Linked DNA regions of Homo sapiens: regions 2 and 3 are each linked to region 1. Evidence: promoter capture Hi-C in 16 types of primary human blood cells and fetal thymus (Javierre and others, 2016). All regions are on one chromosome and are shown on one strand. The core of a region is centred on a gene start or on the middle of the fragment in contact, and the rest is flanking DNA. Distances in the headings are between cores, read along the strand shown. Region 1 holds the start of LINC00659 (long intergenic non-protein coding RNA 659). Region 2 holds the start of BHLHE23 (basic helix-loop-helix family member e23). Region 3 has its middle 9.1 kb from the start of MIR133A2.

Region 1 (2,819 bases), core at 140-2,639:
TTCCTTCGAGTCACTGAGATGCCCAAGGACAAGGGCAACAGAGAGTGTGAAAAGCTGGAGTAGACAGGACAGAAAACAGGGTGCAGCGTCCCCCAGGTTGGCAGATAGCCCAGCCCCAGGGACCCCACAGCCATGGCAACCTGTGTGAATGAGCCCCAGGAGCAGGGCAGTACACGATCTGCGCGACTGTGCGGGGCAGCCCTGGGTCTCTGCCTCAGGGGAGAGATTGTGTCCTCGCCTTTTGTGGTTTCTAGAGGTTCCTGCCCTCCTTGGCTGCACGGCATCTCCCAGCCTCTCTCTCCCTTCCGTCGTCCCCTCTCCTCCTCTGACCCTGACCCTCCCAGTCCCTCTTAGAGGGGCTGTGATTAAACTGTGCCCACCCTGACCATCCAGAATAATCTCCCATCTCAAGGTCCTTAACAGCATGTGGAACTGCACTAGCCGCCCCAAGGCCCCCAAAAGGCAACCCTGGATTGGGCCCCCCAAGTTGCCTGGGATTCATGGCCACCACCCGGCTCGACGGCTCCAGACCGAAATGCACCCAGTTATAGAAACAGACAGTTGCCTCTTGAATGTGCACATGTGTGAGGAGAGTGTCACACCCGTCGAATTAAGGTGGACCCGCCATGAGTGGGGGCAATGCTGGCCAATGCCCACCTGCCCAGCACCCACAGCTCTCGGCCTGGGGCTCCCTCTGTCTCTGGAGCCCGCACTAAAGTGTGCGTCTCCATCCACGACTGGCAGGGCTTGGGGCATAGACATCCCGCTGCCTTGCCTGGAGGCGCCCCAGGCCTCCACTCCCACACTGTCTCAGGGCTCCCCGGGGCTCGGCTCTCCTTGCTCACAGTGGTCCGGGCTGGGGTTCCTTCTTGGTTGCATTTCCAGCTGTGTTCTTTCCTTCACTTTCTCACTCTCCCTTGCCTCAGGGTCTGCATCTGGGGGTCCACTGGGGAGGACTCAGCCTCTCCCGCGTCCTCCATCCCACACACCTGTCCCTGGGCAGCCACGGGGAACAGGAGCACAGGGGACAGCAGGCAGAGGGCAGCGCCCGGGCGAAGGGGACTTTCGCCCTTGCTTCATGCAGCCCTGGCACCCGCAGCAGGGTAAGACGAGATCCCAGAGGAGGAGTCTTGGCCGCAGAACTGCAGGGCCAAGGCACCAGCCGCTCGGGGGCCTGGAGAGCTCAGGTCACAAACTTGAAGTCAGCTGCCCAGGAAGCAGCCTCAGCTGGGGGTCACAGGCCAACTGGGCAGTGCCCTTGGCCACACCTGTGGAAGGAGGACAGAGGAGGGCAGGGCGGAGGAGGGAGGTGCTGGGCTGCAATGTCACCTCTACAGACCTCGGCTGATCCCAAGGGGGTCCACAGTGGATATGGTCCTTCAGGGGTGCCCTTGAAGGCAGGAAGGGGACAGGACTTTATACTGTTCCTCCCACCCCTTCGAGCAGTCACCAACTGCAGCCCAGATGAGGTCAACAGGTACAGAAAGGAGGGGGTGGGACAGGAAGGAGGGGCGGGACAGGAAGGAGGGGGCGGGACAGGAAGGAGGGGCAGGACAGGAAGGAGAGGGTGGGACAGGAAGGAGGGGCGGGACAGGAAGGAGGGGGCGGGACAGGAGGAGGAGATGGGAACAGGGAGGTGGAACGGGAAGGAGGAAATGGGACAGGAAGGAAGAGATGGGAGCAGGAAGGAGATAGGACTGGAAGGAGGAGATGGGACTGGAAGGAGGAAATGGGACAGGAAGGAGGAGATGAGGCAGGAAGGAGGAGATGAGGCAGGAAGGAGATGAGGCAGGAAGGAGGAGATGAGGCAGGAAGGAGGAGATGAGGCAGAAAGGAGGAGATGGGACGGAAAGGAGGGGATAGGACAGAAACGAGGGATCAGGGTCCTATTCTAATCTCCTGGGGGCATGATTGCAGGGGGTGACATGATTACTTCCAGCCAGCCCTACATGAGCCACCTCGTCCATGGAGTCAGCCCCGCCAGGGCAGCAGAGCCCTGGGTTCGCACAGGGAGCCAGGGTGGCGTGGGGCCTGCATTGCAGACTCCATTTGTCCACATCAATCACTTCTCTACGGCCCAAATCACCCTTAGTTGCCCAGTTCCTGCTCCGCGGCAGTCTGGCTCCTGCTGGCGCCCCAGCCATCTGTCTGCATTAGAGAATGATGCTTGCCAGGGCCTCAGGGAGGTGGCACGGATGGGCAACACTGTGCTCCCGGACCAGGTGACAGACACCACCTCATGCCCCATGGCATGGACCTCCACCTGTCTGATGGCTTTGCCCCAGCCTATCTGATGGCATGGTCCCTGGCCAGTCTATCTAATGGCGTGGTCCCCAGCATGTCTGATGGCGTGGTCCCCAGCCTGCCTGATGGCGTGGTCCCCAGCCTGTCTGATGGCATGGTCCCCGGCCTGTCTGATGGCGTGGTCCCCAGTCTGTCTGATGGCGTGGTCCCCGGCCTGTCTGATGGCGTGGTCCCCGGCCTGTCTGATGGCATGGTCCCCGGTCTGTCTGATGGTGTGGTCCCCAGCCTGTCTGATGGTGTGGTCCCCGGCCTGTCTGATGGCTTGGTCCCTGGTCTATTTGATGGTGTGGTCCCCAGCCTGTCTGAAGGTGTGGTCCCCAGCCTGTCTGATGGCGTGGTCCCCGGCCTGTCTGATGGCTTGGTCCCTGGTCTATTTGATGGTGTGGTCCCCAGCCTATCTGAAGGTGTGGTCCCCGACCTATCTATCTGATGGTTTGGTCCCCAGCCTGTCTGATGGCGTCGTCCCCGGCTTGTCTGATGGCATGGTCCCCGGCTTGTCTGATGGCATGGTCCCC
Region 2 (2,819 bases), core at 223-2,722, 230 kb after region 1:
GAGTCACCGAGGTGGGAGGTGCCGGCCACGCGCGTCCTCAGGAACAGAGCACTGCCCTGCAGTTTAGCACGAAGGGCCGGCTGGAGCGGGAGCGCGAGGCCCACTGCAAGAGGATCAGGAGCCAGTAAGTCCGGCTTTTCTTCGTCTCCACCTTTCGTGCGCCCGGGGCCAGGACCGCCTGTCCGGAATCTGACCAGTGCCCGTCCTCGCCGTGGCCCTGGGACCCCGCGGTGGTCTTCTTTTGGGGACGAACGGCAGTGCCCGAAGGATGCTCTACCCACCCCCGTTCCTAGACTTGCTGGGTCCCGACAATACCCAGTGGGTGCCGCGAGTTCCCGGGCGCAGAGTCCAGCGTCCGGCTCTCGAGCTCAATCCCGCGCCCCGACGGCCTTGGCGCTTCCCGCTGCGCTAAACTGTCCACCGCGCACAGGCTGGAAGCGAAGTCGGGCCCCCTCCTCCTGGTCTGCAGGGTCCCTCCAGGCCTTTCCTGTCCGGGCAGAGAGACAGTCACAGGGGCGATCGGAGGACGCGTGCGGGAGGGCCGGGGGCCCGCGCGGTCACGGCTTCTCGTGACAGTGTTTGCAAAGCGCGGAGGGCGTCCCGGAGAAGGCGGCGCACTTGTCAGGGCAGGGCCCCAGGGCGGCGCCTGCGGAGAAGGGGCACACAGTGGCCTGGCCGAAGGGCGTCAAGGGCGCGGCGTTTACGGGCGCGGCCAGGCCCTGGCCCTGGTTGAGGAAGGCCACCAGGCGCCGCATCTCGTCCAGGGCCTGCGCCTGCATGAGGATATAGTTCTTGGCGAGCAGCAGCGTGGCGATCTTGGAGAGCTTGCGCACCGACGGGCTGTGCGCGTAGGGGATGACGGCTCGCAGCCCGTCCAGCGCGTCGTTTAGGTCGTGCATGCGCCGCCGCTCGCGCGCGTTGATGCTGAGCCGCAGAGACCGCTGCTCTCGCGGCCGCCGCCGCCCGTCCGCCGCGCTCCCTGGCCCGCGCCGCCGCCGCCGCTGCTCGAAGGCGTCGTCCTCGTCCCCGCTCTGTTCGCCGCTGCTCTCCGCCGCCTGAGCTGGGGCGCGAGGTGCAGGCGCCGCGGGGAGGTCGCCGCCCGGGCCCGGAGTGCCGTAGCCGCGGGCCGCTTCGGGTTCTCGCGCCGCCCCGTAGGCGAGACCCGCAGCCGCCGCCGCGTAGCCGTGGCTTAGTGCCAGGTACGCGTCCCCCGACAGCGACTTGAGCTCGGCCATGGCCGCGCCGCCTGGGCTCGGGGGCTCGCCGGGTGGGCGGATGCTCATGTGGGTGAGCAGCCCCCGAGGCCGGCCCGAGCCCGCCGCTGCCGCTGCCGCTGCGATGAGGCTCCCGGCTCTGCGCGTCGGTCTGGCTTGCCTGCGGGTCCCAGAGCCTCGGCGCCCGCTGCCTCCTCCGCCTCTTCCTTCTCTCCCACCTCCTCTCCCTCCCAGCCGCGACGCGCAGGGGGCGGGCTCTACCTCCCCCTCGCCCCCGCTTCGGTTTTAAGCCGCGGAGGCGCCCGGTGGGACCTCGCTGCTGTCCAATCAGGGGGGACCGGGTGAGCTCCTCTTCCTGGAGCCGGGCTCCACCAGCGCCGCAGGCTCACAGGCCGGGGGTGGGGGCTCTGGACCGAGGGGCGGCGCGGGGCGGCGCGGGGCGGCGCGCGCGGTCCTGGAGCGCTAGTACTTGCTTCTCGACTCCCCGGCCGCCGCCTCCGGCCGCCCCGGGGATTCCGCCACCAAACGCACGCGTCCCAGGTGGGCACCCGCCTCGGTCCGTCTTTGAGTCTGACCCTAGCGCAAGAGTCCCTGGCGACACGCAGGGGCCAGAGCGGGGGGGCGCGCCGCAATAGCAGCAGCGCCAGCGCCAACACCCTGTCCCGCTGAGGGGCCGCTTCGGGTCGGGGTCAGGGTCGTGGGCGCTCTGGTGCAGCCGCGGCGCAGCGTGTACCCGGAGCCCGCACACTCCCTGCTCGGGGCGCCCTGTGGCCAGGCTTGAGGGGCAGAGTGAGAGGGAGTTTCTAGAACCTGTTGAAAAACGCCACGAGCGTTGCAGGCCGGGGAGGGCGGGAAGGTGGAGGGCAGCGCGGCCTGGGGCTCCCCGGGGGTGGGAGGGGAGCTCTGTGAGCTGCAGGACCGCCTCTTCCCTGCCAGCCGCTTCCTGGGCATCTATCAGCGAAACGCGTGAGGCTTGGTGGGCTTTCCCGGAGCCTCCGAACCCCTGGGGTCCAGCCACACTGGATGGGAATGTGGCCAGCCTCGGACTCGCCTTTTCAGTCCTCTTCCAACCCCGCATGAAGGCCAGAACCCCAGCCCTTCTCCCAGGTGGGAACCTGCCTGGAGGCCCGGCCGAGTGCTGAGGCTAGAGTGTGCTGAGGGATAGTGGCTTCTCCGGTCCTGGCTTGGGTGGGAGACTGGGCCACCCTGGCCTATGGCACGAGGTGGAGCGGCCCGTCGGGCCCTTCTGTGTGACCTGGGAAGGGCCGCATACCCTCCCTGTTCTCCAGGCTCCGCCCCAGGAGGAGCCACAGCGATGGGGCAGTGTGCGCAGCCCCGGGAGGGGAGTGGGAGCTGCACGTGTGTGGGGCGGATGTGCTGTCTGGAAGGTTCTGGGAACGCAGCAGTGACCGGCCTGTCCGGTGGTTCCCTGCCAGGTGCGGGGTGTGAGGAGACAGATGCATGGATAAGTCTCCGTGGGAAACTCAGGCCTTTGTCCTGGCGGAGGGGAATGGGTCTGAGGCAGCCTCTGCCGGGCTGGCGGCCTGTCTGGCTGCGCGTCCTGCAGCACCGGCCTCACCCCCAGCACACGCCCGCCAGGAGCGC
Region 3 (2,819 bases), core at 182-2,681, 200 kb before region 1:
CCCTTTCCAGCAGGAACTGTGGACGGCATCGAAGGGAAGAGAAGGTTCCTGCTGCACCAGAAGCCCCTTATGGAGCAGTGAAGGATTTCACAGAACTAAAGATCAGGTGCCTGAGACAGGAGTTTTTAAAAAGATGCTTTGAAAGCCAAGGGGGAAGCTGAGTTATGAGAAAGCTTTGCACCACCGCAAGGAATACAGAGCCCAGAGCTGGGATCCGAGTCACTGTGGCACTGGGACAGAGGCACTTCGTCGTACGCACCTGGGAGCCCAGACTGGCCTGGCCATTGGCAGCAGGGGGTCCCCGGTGTGGGCTTGCAGCTTGTTCACCTTTACTGTGTCTTCAGGGGCACATCTGTCCATCTCAGCAAGGCTTCAGTGAACGTGCCTTCAGGACGTGGAAGCAGACACCGCACTGTGTCGGGGGCCTGAACACGAAGTCGGTAGAGGAGCAGGTCTCCAGGCACGGCTCCGGCAACACCAACAGGAAGCGGGCCACCTTGGAGAGCGCTCTTCCACTGCTGGAGTTCCTGGTCAATACGGCATCGTCTGCGTGGAGGGTCTGATGCATGAGATCTACGCTGCTGGAAAACACTTCAAAGAAGCAGACTACCTCCTGTGGGCTGAAGTTCTCTTCTCCACCAGGTGAAATGAAGAAAAAGCCCACTCGTTTTGTAGAAGGTAGGGGTGCTGGCAGCCAGGAAGACCAGACCAGCAGGCTTTCTAGCAGAATGAACTCAGGTCTACATCATTATTTTTGTAATCTGGTAAGTTAATAAATGGTGACTGCCTTTGAATTTAAAAGAAATATGTATCATTATGGATTCATGAACCGAAACGTGTTTGGTAGGTCTCAGTCCACTGCAATTATTATCATCTTTGCAGCTCAGATCGTCCTGTCTCTGGCCAGGTGTGTCTCATCGGGTGGACCCCACGTCCTGCGTGCTCTCTCAGGGTCAGCTTGGTTGTCATATAATTTACATACAAAAAAAATGCACAGATTTTAAGTGTGAAGTTTGTAGAGTTTTAACAAATGTTGAGTTTTACACTCATGCAACCACCATCACAACCAAGATCTGGAAGATTCCATCAGTTCAAAAACTTCCCTCATATACCTTGGCAGTCATCCCCTTCCTCTGTCCCAGCAATCATGGACTAGCCAGCATGGATCAGATCTGTTTCAGCTGGAACTTTCTAAATGGAATCATGCAGTGTGTGGGCTGTGTGCCTGGCCTCTTTCAACATCATTTTAAGACTCTTCTGCGCTGTTGTGTGTTTCCATAGGTTTTGTTCCTTTTCTTTGCTGAGAAGGGCTCCATTCTATGACGACACCATTGGCCTGCTGATGGGCATTCGAGAGTCTCAGCCTCCACAGGGTGCAGAGGGCAGAGGCAGGGCTGCAGGAGCCACATGGGGCTGGTTGCTGTCACTCCTGCCATGCTGGGTTGGCTGGGGATAGAAACTCAACTCAGAAGATGAATCAACTTGCTTATGTGGCCAAGAGGTCTGAAAATAGGGCTGGATCCAGAACCCAAACCATGTCATCAGAAATCTTTCTCCATAGCTCAGCTCCACTTTCCTTGGGGCTAGCTTCACTCCTGGCAGGCTGTCTGCAGGCGGAGCAAAATGGACACTGAGATTTCAGGCTTATATATCTAATCGGTGGGACAGAGAGGGAGGAGAGAGGGAGAGAGAGAGAGAGAGGTGGAGGGGGAGAGAAAGATGCAGAGAGAGACAGAGAGAAAGAGACAGAGAGTGAGAGACGCACAGACAGAAAGAGACAGAGTGAGAGAAAGAGACAGAGAGGAGGGAAAGAGACAAAGAGAAAGAGAGAGACAGAGGGAAAAAGACACCAAAAGAGCAAGCACGAGAGAGATTCATTTCAAGAAACCCAGCAAAGGTCCCAAGATGGGCACTCGCTGGCCAGGCTTGGGTCACTTGACCACTTGGGGTGGGAGAAAGCCATCCCCTAGAACTACCCAGGCTCCCCGGATTGAAACCAGGGACCTGATAATGAAAGGAGGAGGGACGCTGGGCAGGCAGAGTGAGGCCACCCTGCACCGTTGCCTCCACAGTGTGCTGATGCCAGGCCCCGCGTGAGCGTCTGTCACCCACCGTGCACTGCCCTCCCACCTGGTGGGCCGACTCCCGCAGCCCCGCCGTCTCGATACAGTGGTGGGTGGGTGGTGAGCTGCTTTCCTGTGCTCTGACCTTACTTTATTTCTAAGAGTGAAAACAGAAAGACGTGAGTGCCAACGCCAGCGACAGAAAGCAGGCTCTGTGAACAGCGCAGAGGCAAGGCTGGCACTGCCCAAGCTGCCCGGGGGACAGGCACGTGAGGCAGGTATGGCGCTGTGGACTGCAGACTGGGACGTTTGGGGCCACTTTCCTATAGAGGGTGTATCTTTATAGCAGCTGTAATACACGTTTCCTCATTGGAGGAGAAGACACGCTGGGTGACCATCTGTGTGTCAATGTACACAGTCAATTTTGTACATTTTCCAGGATTGCATTGTGGACACAGTGAAAGAGACCCCTGGGAGAAATGCTGCGTTCAGTGGAGACTGAACCCAGGTGGGGGGCTGGGGGGTGCCTCCTGTGACTCGGGGCAGGTGCCTGACTACCTGGGGTGCTTTCCAAGGAAGGTGGGCAGGGGCATGAGGAGGGCCCCTCCAGGGCCTCCGTACCTAAGTGAAGCTTCGTCAATAAGCTTCTCGGGAGATGGCCAGGGGCAATGAGGGAGACAAAGGGAGCTCCAACTCAAAACCTGAGAGAAAAGCAAATGGCGAATGTGATTTCATAAAAATGTTTCACTGACAAAT

Evidence for each region. Contacts are between HindIII fragments. The CHiCAGO score rates a contact against its expected background, and 5 or more counts as called.
Region 2: the fragment with the promoter of BHLHE23 here is called in contact with the fragment with the promoter of LINC00659 in region 1 in 2 of 17 cell types (activated CD4 T cells and total B cells); the score reaches 5.7 in activated CD4 T cells.
Region 3: a contact is called between a fragment that was not itself captured here and the fragment with the promoter of LINC00659 in region 1, in 2 of 17 cell types (monocytes and neutrophils). The highest score is 6.4, in monocytes.

Annotation. Positions count from the first base shown.
Region 1 is chr20:62,775,467-62,778,285 of GRCh38, forward strand. LINC00659 (long intergenic non-protein coding RNA 659) reads right to left here and starts at 1,390. Exons shown (of 3, transcript NR_046225.1): 1 at 1,340-1,390. RefSeq lists a silencer at 697-858. The HindIII fragment of the contact is 9,640 bases long and covers 1-2,819 here.
Region 2 is chr20:63,005,492-63,008,310 of GRCh38, forward strand. BHLHE23 (basic helix-loop-helix family member e23) reads right to left here and starts at 1,473. Exons shown (of 1, transcript NM_080606.4): 1 at 436-1,473. The coding sequence starts at 1,283. The coding sequence ends at 558. RefSeq lists enhancers at 1,192-1,897, 1,898-2,605. The HindIII fragment of the contact is 10,733 bases long and covers 1-2,819 here.
Region 3 is chr20:62,572,651-62,575,469 of GRCh38, forward strand. It overlaps the pseudogene RPL7P3. Among named protein-coding and RNA genes, the nearest start is that of MIR133A2, 9.1 kb to the left of the region's middle. The HindIII fragment of the contact is 2,521 bases long and covers 172-2,692 here.